2 separate regions of the Homo sapiens genome follow, and region 2 is linked to region 1. The links are contacts of gene promoters, found by promoter capture Hi-C in blood cells and fetal thymus (Javierre and others, 2016). All regions are on one chromosome and are shown on one strand. The core of a region is centred on a gene start or on the middle of the fragment in contact, and the rest is flanking DNA. Distances in the headings are between cores, read along the strand shown.

The links. The method cuts DNA at HindIII sites, captures the fragments that hold promoters and counts their contacts. A CHiCAGO score of 5 or more calls a contact.
Region 2: a fragment that was not itself captured here is called in contact with the fragment with the promoter of LAMB3 in region 1 in 1 of 17 cell types (M1 macrophages); the score reaches 6.0 in M1 macrophages.

What each region holds. Positions count from the first base shown.
Region 1 is chr1:209,651,175-209,657,229 of GRCh38, reverse strand. LAMB3 (laminin subunit beta 3) reads left to right here and starts at 4,805. Exons shown (of 23, transcript NM_000228.3): 1 at 4,805-4,861. RefSeq lists enhancers at 1-534, 4,104-5,303. The HindIII fragment of the contact is 2,819 bases long and covers 4,178-6,055 here.
Region 2 is chr1:210,345,041-210,351,032 of GRCh38, reverse strand. HHAT (hedgehog acyltransferase) reads right to left here. Exons shown (of 12, transcript NM_018194.6): 2 at 1,967-2,100. The coding sequence starts at 2,057. Among named protein-coding and RNA genes, the nearest start is that of HHAT, 19 kb to the right of the region's middle. The HindIII fragment of the contact is 279 bases long and covers 1,956-2,234 here.

The sequences.
Region 1 (6,055 bases), core at 3,556-6,055:
TGGTATGAAGGAGGAAACCCTGCTGGTATGTGCTGGAGCCTCTGAGATGGAAGAACTGGAGGCCAGCACCTTCTCCATCTGTGCCCATAGAAGAGAGGTTGTCAATAAGGAAAACAAATAAGGAGGTAGCACCTGGTGGGGTTTGTTCTAGATGTCTCTACAGCATCAGTGTCACTCCTGGAGCCCCTAGACAGTATCAGTGCTCCTAGGTTTGGAACAAGGGCACAAAGAGGAGGTTTTTTGTTGTTGTTGTTGTTTTAAGACAGGGTCTCACTCTGTTGCCCAGGCAGGAGTGCAGTGGCCCAATCTCGGCTCACTGCAACCTCCATCTCCTGGGTTCAAGCGATTCTCCTGCCTCAGCCTCCCGAGTAGCTGGGATTATAGGCACCCACAACCATGCCCAGCTAATTTTTGTATTTTTAGTAGAGACGGGGTTACACCACGTTGGCCAGGCTGGTTTCGAACTCCTGACCTCAAGTTATCCAACCACCTTGGCCTCCCAAAGTACTGGGATTACAGGCGTGAGCTACGGCGCCTGGCCAACAAAGAGGAGTTTTTAGACATTGGGAGACATGAGGTCCAGAGTCTGGTGAACTCTGGCCAAGGATTAGCCAGGGTGCACTCTGGGAGTTCAGGTGATATGGCCCATCTTTGGCCCTGTGTAATGGTTAAGAATATGCGTGCTGGAGCAAAATGGCATGGGCTCAAATCCCCAGTTACTAGCCAAGGCCAAGTTATCGAAAATGTGCCTCATTTTCCTTGTCTGCAAGATAAAGATAATTGTCTATCCCCACAGAGTTGTGGTGGGTATTAAGTGAGTGGATACATGCAAAGGGCTCAGAACAGTGCCTGGGCACAGCAAGCACTCAGCAGATATCAGCTGTAGTGATTTTAGGCCGATTGCCTGATTGCTCCCAGTCCTCGGGCTCAAGCTGCATGCACAGTTGTCCACTGGGTAAACATTCAGGTTGGATAGGTGAGGGTGGGGAGAGGAGAAGGGCTATGGAAGAGTCACTCATGACAGGCGACTTCTGTCCTGCTTAGCCTCCCCTCTCCTGAGGCTGGGCTCCTATCTGTGCCTCCGTAACACACCAGGCCCACTTTCTCTCCCTGGTTCCTGGGGAGGCACAGAGAAGAGTGTGACCAGTTGTCTGGACAGCTGAGCAGTTGTGTTGTAGTGCAGGGCAACGCAAGCTTTAGTCACATGGCAAATCCCCAGGGCCGTTCCTGGAGTCCACCCTGTCCCACAGACGAGGACTCAGCCATGATTCACTGTATTCAGGTGTGGCCTGAGCTTGAGTCACCTGGTGCCCCTTCCTCCAACACCTGAGAGTCACAGCCTGGACCAGGTTCTCCTATGCCCCCTGAACCTCTTCTCTCTCCTTTTCTTCCTCCTTTTCTCCTTCCTTTGTTCCCTATCCCTTGATCTCTGATTGATCAGATCTTGGCTGATCTCCCTAGCGACTTGGACGGTTTGAGCCTGACAGATGGATAATAGACACAGTAGCTTATAATGCCACCCCCACACCCTGTCAGAGACATTGCCAGGAATGACTGAGAAGCAGGCAAAGAAGGAGACTGCCTCTGTCAATATGGTGACATTTCTGTAATTGGAGATAGGTGCCTCAAAAAAGACCTCCGCACTCTGGCTGATACAGGAATTTCCACTATTAGTAATCCATCCCAGTGCCCAAAGCCTGGATTGTCCCCTCTGAGAATGCAACTACACATCAACGGCACAGGGGATGCATTGAACTGTATCAATTGTTTGTACTTTAGTGTGGATCCATTCATTCCACAAGTATTGAGCACCTACTATGTGCCAGGCACTTGGAAAACAGTAGTGAATAAGATAGAAATCTCTGCCTTCTTGGATATTACATTCTAGTTGGGAAGAGACAGAAAATAAACATAAGCAGATAAATTATATAGTTGGTTAGAAGCTGGTACATGATGCCCCCCTACCAAATAAGTAAATAAATAACTCACCAAAATATAGGGTAGGTGGGGTTAGGAGTGTTAGGATGGGGGACAGGGATGGGGCAGGGAAGTTGGCTGTAATTTTAATAGTGTGTTTAGGATAGGCCTCATTGAGAAGTTAGGATCTGAACAAAGACTTTGAAAGAGGTCAGAGAGTTAGCTTTGTAGATATCCAGGGGCAAGACCGTTCCAGGCAGCAGAAGCAGCTGGAGCCAAAGCCCTAAGCCTGAGCTAAGACAGGGATAGAGGCCATTGTAGTAGAGGTGAAGAGTAATGGGAGGAAGGTGGTGTAGGGTCCCCTAGACTCTGAAAAAGCTCTGGCCTTGGCCCTGAGTGGGATAGGGGCATGTGAAGATTCTGAGCTCGGGGTGCATAACCTGCTGTGTTGGGACTTGACTGTATATCAGTGAGGAGGCTGTTGCAGACGTCCCAGGAAAAGAGGCTCAGGCCAGGAGGGAAGAAGTAGATTCTGATTATTATTGGAAGGCAGAGCTGACCGAATTTGCTGATGGAGTGATGAGGTTTGAAAGATACTGAAGTCTGGGATGACTTCACTAGCCACTTTCCTGAGCACACATTCTAATAAGTCAAGGCTCTAGGGCAGATAAGTGCTCTGTTGTAGGAGGATGGGCGCAGGGAGAGAGGAAAGGTGTGCACACAGGGGAGGCTGAGGGGCTCCAGCCACAGTACCACACCCCTTTAATCTTAGCTGGACCCTGATCTGGCCTCAGGCTCTATTTTAGGCTACTTGACTGAACAAATTGGGTTCTGAAGCTCCAGAGCTTGTGCCTGGAGCCCTGGAGTTCTTGGGGGACTGGATCCCCACTTGGAAATGATCAGTGTCCCTCAGGAGTGAGGCTGGCTGGGCTGCTCTTGGGGGTCTGCATAAACAGCTTCCTGGACTTTGCCGGGAGTGTAGGGGAGAGCCAAGCACAGCAATTGGCATGTCCCTCCTGCGAAGCCAAACCACTCCAGGACCTGCCCAAGCCTGTGAAGTCTGAGACACCGAATGTGTATTTACCTGGGCTCATGGCCTCAGATAAAGGGAGGAGGAGGAGGATTTAAGGGGCCCCAGCTACTCATGGTGAGGCCCACCGCACACCTGCCCTGCCTTTTCTCCTCTGAGGATCTGGGATTGCAACACCTGCTCTCTTCTGCTGAGTTAATTATTAATGAGTTCTTTGTCACATCCTCTGGTGATGGGCAGAGGGCGAAAGTTTCATGAGCGCTCTGAGTTCAGGGAGTTGGGGAAGTGGAGAGAAAGAGACCACCAGGTGGGAGAACTGAAAACACAGGTGTGTCAGAGTCAGAGCTGACCTTTCTCGGTGGGGGACTTGAGGGAGGTCTCTCTGTGTTGAAGGGACACTGCTTCTACTGACCTTACTTGCTGAGTTGAGCTAGATTTCACTGGAATGCTTACAGGGGGCAAGACTCTAACATTTATTGGACTATCAATTATGCATCAACTTACATCAACAACTCACTGCCCACTTGCTAATTACACTATTTCTTCTGCCTACCTGAACTTATGCTTAATTCGAATCTGAGGGTTAGAAATGCCCAATTTAATCCACAAAATTCTACATTTCCCCCTTAAGGGTCTTCAAGCCAATTTCTTGGACATAACCCTCCAATGGTGGAGAACTTTCTGTTTAGGAGACACTAACAAAGTGGAATCGTAGTTAAGAAGCTCCTTTAAATAGTAGCTTTGAGGTCCTAGCATTCCAAAACGGTGCCAGTGCAGGCTCTCCAGGGCCAAGATATGGACTGGCTGACCCTCCAGGTTTCCCTAAAAGCTCTCTGACCCTAACCTGGGGGAAAGAGTGTCCTGTGAGACCAGCCTCTCAATTTGGACCTGCCACTTCCATTTACAGTGGCTGGAAGCCCAGGATCCCTGAGCAAGGAGCCCACAAAAGAAGCTGTGTTCTCAGGCCTGGCAGGAGGCCAGGGAAAGTCTGTTTTGACTTTGTCAGTCAAGCTATGCTTCAGCCTTTCCTTCCACCACTTGTGGTCAGGTCTGTTTTCTGGCCCTCCAGGCGGGCATTCCTGCCTAGGGAGGGAGGGGCTAGGAGACTAACCCTCCCCACAGGTGGGAGGAGTGACTCACAGGCAGCTACCTGTCCCAGGGCTCCCTGCCAACCCTGTGGAGGGAGCTGGAGGCGAGCCATTTAGTTACTCTGCTCATTTCTCTTAAGCTTTCCTTGGATGAGTTGAGCTTTGAATCCTTCCTGATGAACCTTGCCTTTTAAGGATCCTCCAAATGCCCCAAGAAGCTGGGATTTTTCATTTTTTTTTTCACTGGGGAGGGGAATGGTGCTTTCCAGGGTCCTGGATGTTTGAGTCTTCTCACCTTCCAGCCCGGTGATATGTCTGGAGCTTTAACTCTCTATATAAGCCCTAATCTTTGTGTTCTCTGCCTGATCTTCTGTCTGGGGTGGTCCAGGTCACAAGAAGAAGCTGACCCCTGCTGGCTTTGGGAAAATGCTGAGTTCATTGCCTGGCACAAATGCAAGGGCCCTTCCCCACCCTGTGAATTCTGGTCTCTGATGATCACTTACATGTGCCTTGTGCTTTCTGTTTGAGGGGCCCCTTGCAGCCCCCACAGGCAGGTGGGCATTGTGGAGCTCACTACAAGAACTCTGGGACGGACCGACCAACCCACTTGCCCAGTCCCGTCCTGGGAGGTGGGGGTGCAGTGACGACAGATGGGTGTGACGGCTGCCAGATTCCTGAGACCCGCCCTGCGGTGGGGCTACACCCAGCCAGGGAGTCTCCAGAGGTGAGGCTGTTGTTTAAAAACCTGGAGCCGGGAGGGGAGACCCCCACATTCAAGAGGAGCTTTCAGGCGATCTGGAGAAAGAACGGCAGAACACACAGCAAGGTATGTTACCTGTCTTTACCTGCCTGGTGCGGGCCGGATGCGGGAGGAGGACTGTATCTCTGGATGCCTGGGGCCTGGTTTCAGGGCCTGATTTATTCCTCTTCCTGGGAGCTCACTCAGGTGAGCTAGGTTAAAATGTCTGCTACAGTTTTGATTTCTTTTTCACATTTGATAAGCACCTCAGTGGCTTAGAAGAAAGCAGGTTCAGATCCGGGGTTGAGCACAAAAGAGAAGTGAGAAGGGTGGGCTGGCCTGGCTCAGAATGCCTACTTGCAGGGGGATTTTCAGTCAGGGGTGGGAAAGCTGAGAAAGCACTGGATGAAAGTCAGAAGATGGGTCTCTCTTAGGCCATCGTTAGCTGTGGGACCCCAGGCCACATGTTCCCTCCCTGGGCCCATGACTCTTTTAGGAGAGGGATTGGAAGGAATGATTTTGAAGCATTAGGATCTATAATTTAAAGATGCCAGAAATGTCCTCAATTTCCCCCCCCGCCCCTGCCTTGCCAAGCCCCCAGCCCTCCACCCCAGCCAAAAGAGTTTGTGGCTGTCATTGGAACAGAGTGAACATCCAATTCAAGGCAGAAGGGTCACTGCATGAGCAAGGGTGGGGCATGTTTCCACAAGGCAGGCCTGCCTCTGGGACCCCACGGTGGCTTTCGAGCATCCTTCCCCAGCCTCCTTCAGAATCCCTGCTTTGTGGCCTCCCAGCCCCACCCCTCTTGTCGAGCCCCAGCCCATCATTGAAGACATTTTGGGTTGCTTCCCTTTCAGAAGAAACCCTCACTCACTTGTTAAAGACAGCCATACATCTCTCCCTGTTGCATCCCAGAATTGTGGGCACAGAGCCTCAAACTCAAAGTGGCCCTGAATGGTATTGGAGGCCATGCCCGTGACAGGAGAAGGTTTGCCTCCAGGCCGTCAGCCACTCTGACTCATTCACTTTGGGCGGGGCTGGGTTGAGGCTGCTGGTCTAGGCCCTGAGAAAAGCCAGCCCTCTCTCTTGGGGCTGGAACTAGGTCTTGGCCCTTTCTACAGCTTTTCTCCTGCAAAGGGTCCAGCCTTTTCCTGCTCCCCACGTTGTCCTTACGGCTGTGTGGGGTAGGGCAGGGTCCACACTCCTTCCCATCCATTTTAGAGGAGGAAGCTGGAGTCTGGGAAGGGATGGGATTTTCCCAGGGCACCCTGTGAGTCACAT
Region 2 (5,992 bases), core at 846-3,345, 700 kb before region 1:
ATAAATCTCCTTTTATATCTATATGTAGCCTATTGATTCTATTTCCCTGGAGAACCCTAACTAATACAGTCATTCATAACAAAAGCTCTCAGAAAACTAGGAATAGAGGGGAACTTCCTTAACTAGATAAAAAGCATCCATAAAAAACCCACAGCTAATGTCATACTTAATGGTGAGAAACCAGAAGTTTCCCCAGTTAAATTAGGAATAAGGCAAGGATAAGCCCTCTCATCTCTTTTTCAACATTGTACTGGAAACCCTAATTAATGCAATACAACAACAACAAAAAAGAAAAGGTATATAAGATTGAAAAGAAAGAAAGAAAATCATCTTCGCAGACGCCATGATTACCTATGTAGAAAATCTGAAAGAACTGACAGAAAAACTCCTGGAATTAATAAGCTATAATAACAAGATTGCTATAACAAAATCAATTGCTTTCCTATATATCAGCAATGAAATAAGTAGAATTTGAAATTTAAAACAATATCATTTACATTGTCACCCAAAAAATGAAATACTGAGCTATAAATCTAACAAAATATGTATAAGATCTATATCAGGAAAACAATAAAACTCTCATGAAAGAAATCAAAGAACTAAATAAATGGAGAAATAGTCCATATTCATGGATAGGAAGACTCAATATTGTCAAGATGTCAGTTCTTCCCAACTTAATCTATAGATTCAATGCAACCACAATGAAAATCCTGGCAAATTCCATTGTCCGAATGTACCACAGTTTATTAGTCCATTTGCTGCTTAAGGACATCTTGATTGCTTCCAATTTTTAGCAATTATGAATAAAGCTGCTATAAACATCTTTATTTTATGGCTAAAGTTATTTTGTAGATATCAACAAATTGACTCTAAAGTTTATACAGACAGGCAAAAGACCCAGAATAGACAACACAAATAACAGTTAGAAGACTTCTATCCAACTTCAAGACTTAATGTAAAGCTACGGTAATCAAGACATTATGGTATTGGTGTAAGAATAGACACCTCCCATTTTCAATATACTTTATTTTTTAAAAGTAGTTTTAAAGCCAGGCATGGTGGTGCACTCCTGTAGTCCCAGCTACAGGGTGCAGTGGCTCACGCCTGTAATCCCAGCACTTTGGGAGGCTGAGGCAGGAGGATCACCTGAGGTCAGGAGTTTGAGATCAGCCTGGCCAACATGGTGAAACCACGTCTCTACTAAAAATACAAAAATTAGCCAGGCGTGGTGGTGGGCACCTGAAATCTCAGCTACTCAGGAGGCTGAGGTAGGACAATTGCTTGAATCCAGAAGGCAGAGGTTGCAGTGAGCCGAGATGGTACCATTGCTCTAGCCTGGGCGACAAGAGCGAAACTAGGTCTCAAAAAAAAAAAAAAAAAGTTTTAGGTAGCACATAGCCACCAACCTAAAGACTATTTCCCAGCCTCCCAGCTGTGCCCGTGGGACTCAGTGCTGGCCAGTTGGGTGTGAGCAGGAGTGACTAGTGCTCCTTGCCAAACTGCCGCTAAAATAAAGGAGGGCCCCCATTCCCCTTCCTTTGGGCTGGAATGTGACCTGATGATGATTTATCTCCAACACTCAGACAAAGGCAACACTAAAAATGACAGAAGAAGACAAAACGAACCCAGATCTAATATGTCTCAGAGGAGTAATGATGAAAGAGAAATTTAAGAGTTTACTTTGAATTCTGAACGCAAATCCCCTCCACGGCCTTCAATAGCTTTTGAATCAAACCCACCAATTATAGAAGACAAGCCACAGCATCACCTAAAAGACCTAGGTTTAGGGTAGAAAACTCAATGGACTCAGGTCACTGATTCAAACTATCCAAGACATGGGGAAGCAAATCAAGGCCCACATCATCTTGACACTATTGGATCATCTTCTTGAATCTTCCACCTCTGCTCCTTTTTTTGACAGGAGTTTCCTTGTTTGATAGGAGGTCTGAAAAGCTTGGGGCCTTACCTCTGGAGACTTTGTAAACTTCATAGAAGGAATAGAAGTGGAAGCCTAGTGAGGCAAGTAGGTAAAGTGCCAGTTCCCATCGGGGCAGCATGGCTCCTTGGCACGAAGGTTCCCGATGCCTACGCTGAGAGTTTCTGAGAAACAGAGACAAAACTTTAAGCCATGAACATGACACTAGAGAACAGCATCTAAACATCAATTCAGTTAGTTCACACTCCCGGAGACCCATCACTATTCAAGGTGATACAGACATAACCCCAATCAAGCTTCCTCCTCCCTGTGAACTTACTCCATCCTGCATCCAACACACACACACACACACACACACACGCACACATACACCACACATGTGCATCCTGCCTGTCAAAGGGGTCAGGTCTTTTCCTAGGAGTTCCCACAGTCTCCCATCAGAGTATACATCAGACAGTTCTCTACCCATTGCATAATATGCCTGTCTCTTCTGTGGAGTGGACCCTCAGATAGCAGGGACCATGATCTCTGACTCACCAGCCCCTAGCACAGTGCCTGGGATGTAGCAAGAAGGGACTACCAGGTGCTCTGTGAATAATAAATGGCTTCAAAAAGTCTGAAAAGCACAAACAGTATACAAACCTCTAAATCAACAGGTTCACCATCCTTGTTGTCCCTTTCAAGTATCATACTATAGGCCAGGCATGGTGGCTCATGCCTGTAATCCTAACACTTTGGGAGGCCAAGATGGGAGGATCACTTGAGGCCAGGAGTTCGAGACCAGCCTGGGCAACATAGCCAGATCCCCTCTCTAAAAGCAATAATAAAATAAAAACTTAAAATCAGCTGTCTGCCATGCATCTATGCACTTTATTTATGTATTTTTGGAGACAGGGTCTATGTTTCCCAGGCTGATCTTGATTTCCTGGCCTCAAGTGATCCTCCCACCTCAGCCTCCTGAGTAGCTGGGTTTATAGGCACAAGCCACTGTGCCAGGCCTCATCTGTACATTTCTTAAAGGGCAGTTAATGACATAATCACAGACATCTGTGACAGACACTGCTTGTTACCCACCGCCCCTCACTACCCCTTTTCAGAATTCAGTCTCTCTTCTTACACATCAATTAAAATTTCCTCTGGACACCAACACTACACTGTAGCTAAGTGTGGACACCTGAATAGCTCCATTCAAAAGGGTGTGAGTGAAGGGACATGGCTGTGGCCATCTCTTTCTTTCCCTCCCTTTCCTGTTGAACAGAATTGGAACAGCCTCCGTGGATGAAGAGGTGAAAGCCACATGGACAAGACAGAGGCCTCTCAGTCCCCAAATCCAGGTACCACCCCCAAGCCCCAAAGTGCCCCAGACTACTTAGATCTAGACTGTTACAGGAAAGAGAAATGCATTTCTAGGTTGTTTAAGCCTCTCCTATTCTAGATCTCTCCATCATGGCAGCCATGACTATACTCTAAGTAATAGAGAAGGTATAGGAAAGTTAGGTCCTAAAATTCAGCAAATTAAATGATTCCAAATGTTCCAAGTAACAAAGAGTTCACTAAATTTAAACGCATTTATGGCCTTTACTGCTTTATTTAAACCTCTCAAGTATGTCTCATTGTGGATGCCAAAATAAGAGCAAAATTTTAAGCAGCACCTCCCACCAACCCCACCAAGTACTTCTAACATGTGACAGTCATGCCAAACCCCAGAATTCACACATTATCTCATTTTGTTTTCACAACAGCCTGGTGAAGTAGGTGGAAGTGGAACAGGGGAGGTAGGCATTTTATAGATGACAAATGTGATGAGGTCACAGAGCCAGAAATAACTGAGCCAGAGCAAAAAAGCAAATACTGCATGATCTCACTTATATGTGAAACCTAAAAAAAGTCAAACTCACAGAAGTGGTTGCCAGGGGCTGGGGCGGGGGAAGTGGGGAAGATGTTGGTTAAAAGATGTTGGACAGGATGAATAAATTCTGAGGATCTATTATACAGCATGGTGATTATAGTTAACAATAATGTATTATATTCTTGAAAAGTGCTAAGAGTAGATCTTAAATGTTCTCACCATAAAATGATAAGCAGGTAAGGTGATGGGTATGTTAATTACCTTGATTTAATCATCTCACAATGTATAGCTAGACATCACATTGTACACCATAAATATGTACAATTTTTGTCTAAATATGTGAGTAAACAAATAAGTAAATAACTGAGCCAAGGCTCAAAGCCAAGTCTTTGGACCCAGGCCCCTGCCCCTCCACTCTGCCATGGCCAATCCCATTAATGCCAGTGTACAGTTACTCAGACTTAGAGCCTGGCTTAGAATCTGCCGCACACACAAACTCCTTTCTTCAGACCACTGGGAGACAGAGCAGGAAGGGAAATAAACTTCAGCCTTGATAAACCACGATTTCAGAAATAAGCAGTCTTGCACCCAGAGTGCCCCATTTCGTTACCTAAAAGTCACCCAGAAAGTTTGGTCTGGACTTTTCCTGCAACCTAAGAGATCCAGAAGCAATCATTCATGCTTTAAAACACAAGCCTAAGCCCTAGTATTTCAACAACACTTTCTCAAGTTCCTTACTATTTTTCAGAACTGCTTCTAGCTTTATCCATTTCTATTCACAATTTATTTTTAAATACTTTCATCTTTAGAATAACAAGACTCCTTTCTGGAACTTTTCAGGAATTTGGTAGTCTTCCCTTTAGTGGGAAGGTAATTTTAACTTCTTGGCTTATAATTTAATGTCTCGCCTGTCAAAAGATGTTGGTATTACATCGGATGACCTCTTTGCCTCATGAAGAATCTGATTAGCAAAAAGCTGATCTCCTAATTGGGCGACTGAAATTTGAACACAAATGATCTTGTAGACTGAATGAAAGTTTTAGAAGGCCTGCCATTAGATGCTTTTCAGGGACATTCTATCTGAGACAATCCTCCTGCATTAAGGATTTAATCCTCAGGGAACTAGAAAATTCGGTTTAATAATTTTTCATTTTGGTGCTGCTTTTTTTTTTTTTTTCTTCCTGGAGACAGGGTCTTGCTCTGTTGCCCAAGCAGGAGTGCAGTGGCATGATCTCAGCTCGCTGCAGCCTCAACTTCCCAGGCTCAAGCAATTCTCCTGCCTCAGCCTCCTGAGTAGCTGGGATTACAGGCATGCACCACAATGCCAGGCTAGTTTTTTATTGTTGTTGTTGCCCAGGTTGGTCTCAAACTCCTAAGCTCAGGAGATCCGCCCACCGTGGCCTCCCAAAGTGCTAGGATTACAGGCGTGAGCCACTGCACCCAGCTTAGTGCTGCTCTTAGCTGGATTGTACAGTGAGTCCTTACTGAACATCACCAGTAGGGTCTTGGAAATTGTAACTTTAAACAAAACAATGTATAATGCTACTAATTTTACAATAGGCTAATTGATATAAGCAAAAAGTAAGTTCCTACTGCATATTTCTGGTCACAAAAACATCATACATCTAAATAAAGACCAAAACACTTCTAATAGTAAACACTGAAATAAACAAGAGCTATACACATACACTTAAAGATTAATAAGCACAGGTAAGATCATTATTTACCCAAGTTTGGTGAATCAGCAAGTGATGGCAGTTGTGATGGTGGTCGGTTAAACCAAGGAATAAAATGTTTGCAAAGCAAAAATTATAAGGAGCACCTCCTGCCACCATGCAGTTCAAAACATTTACAATTAGGGTGGGCTCACTGAGCGCTTTCATACTACATTTTTTTTGTCATGCATTTGTATGATTATCATAGACTTTACAAATTTTTATTAATTTGTATTCATTCATTCATTTTCCACCCCACTTGTTCCAATTTAGGGTCTCTGGTAGCTGAGCCCATTCCAGCAGCTCAGGATGCAAAGCAGGAACCAGCCCTGGACAGGATGCCATCCCAGCGCAGAACCCACTCATACTCACTCCCCCACACTCGTTACCAAACACAGGTTCAGCTGCTCACCACTTGCAAAACAAATTAGCAAGATAGAGGTATGGCAGAAAGAAAGTGACTTTATTACAGACCAAAGCTAGCCATGGGGA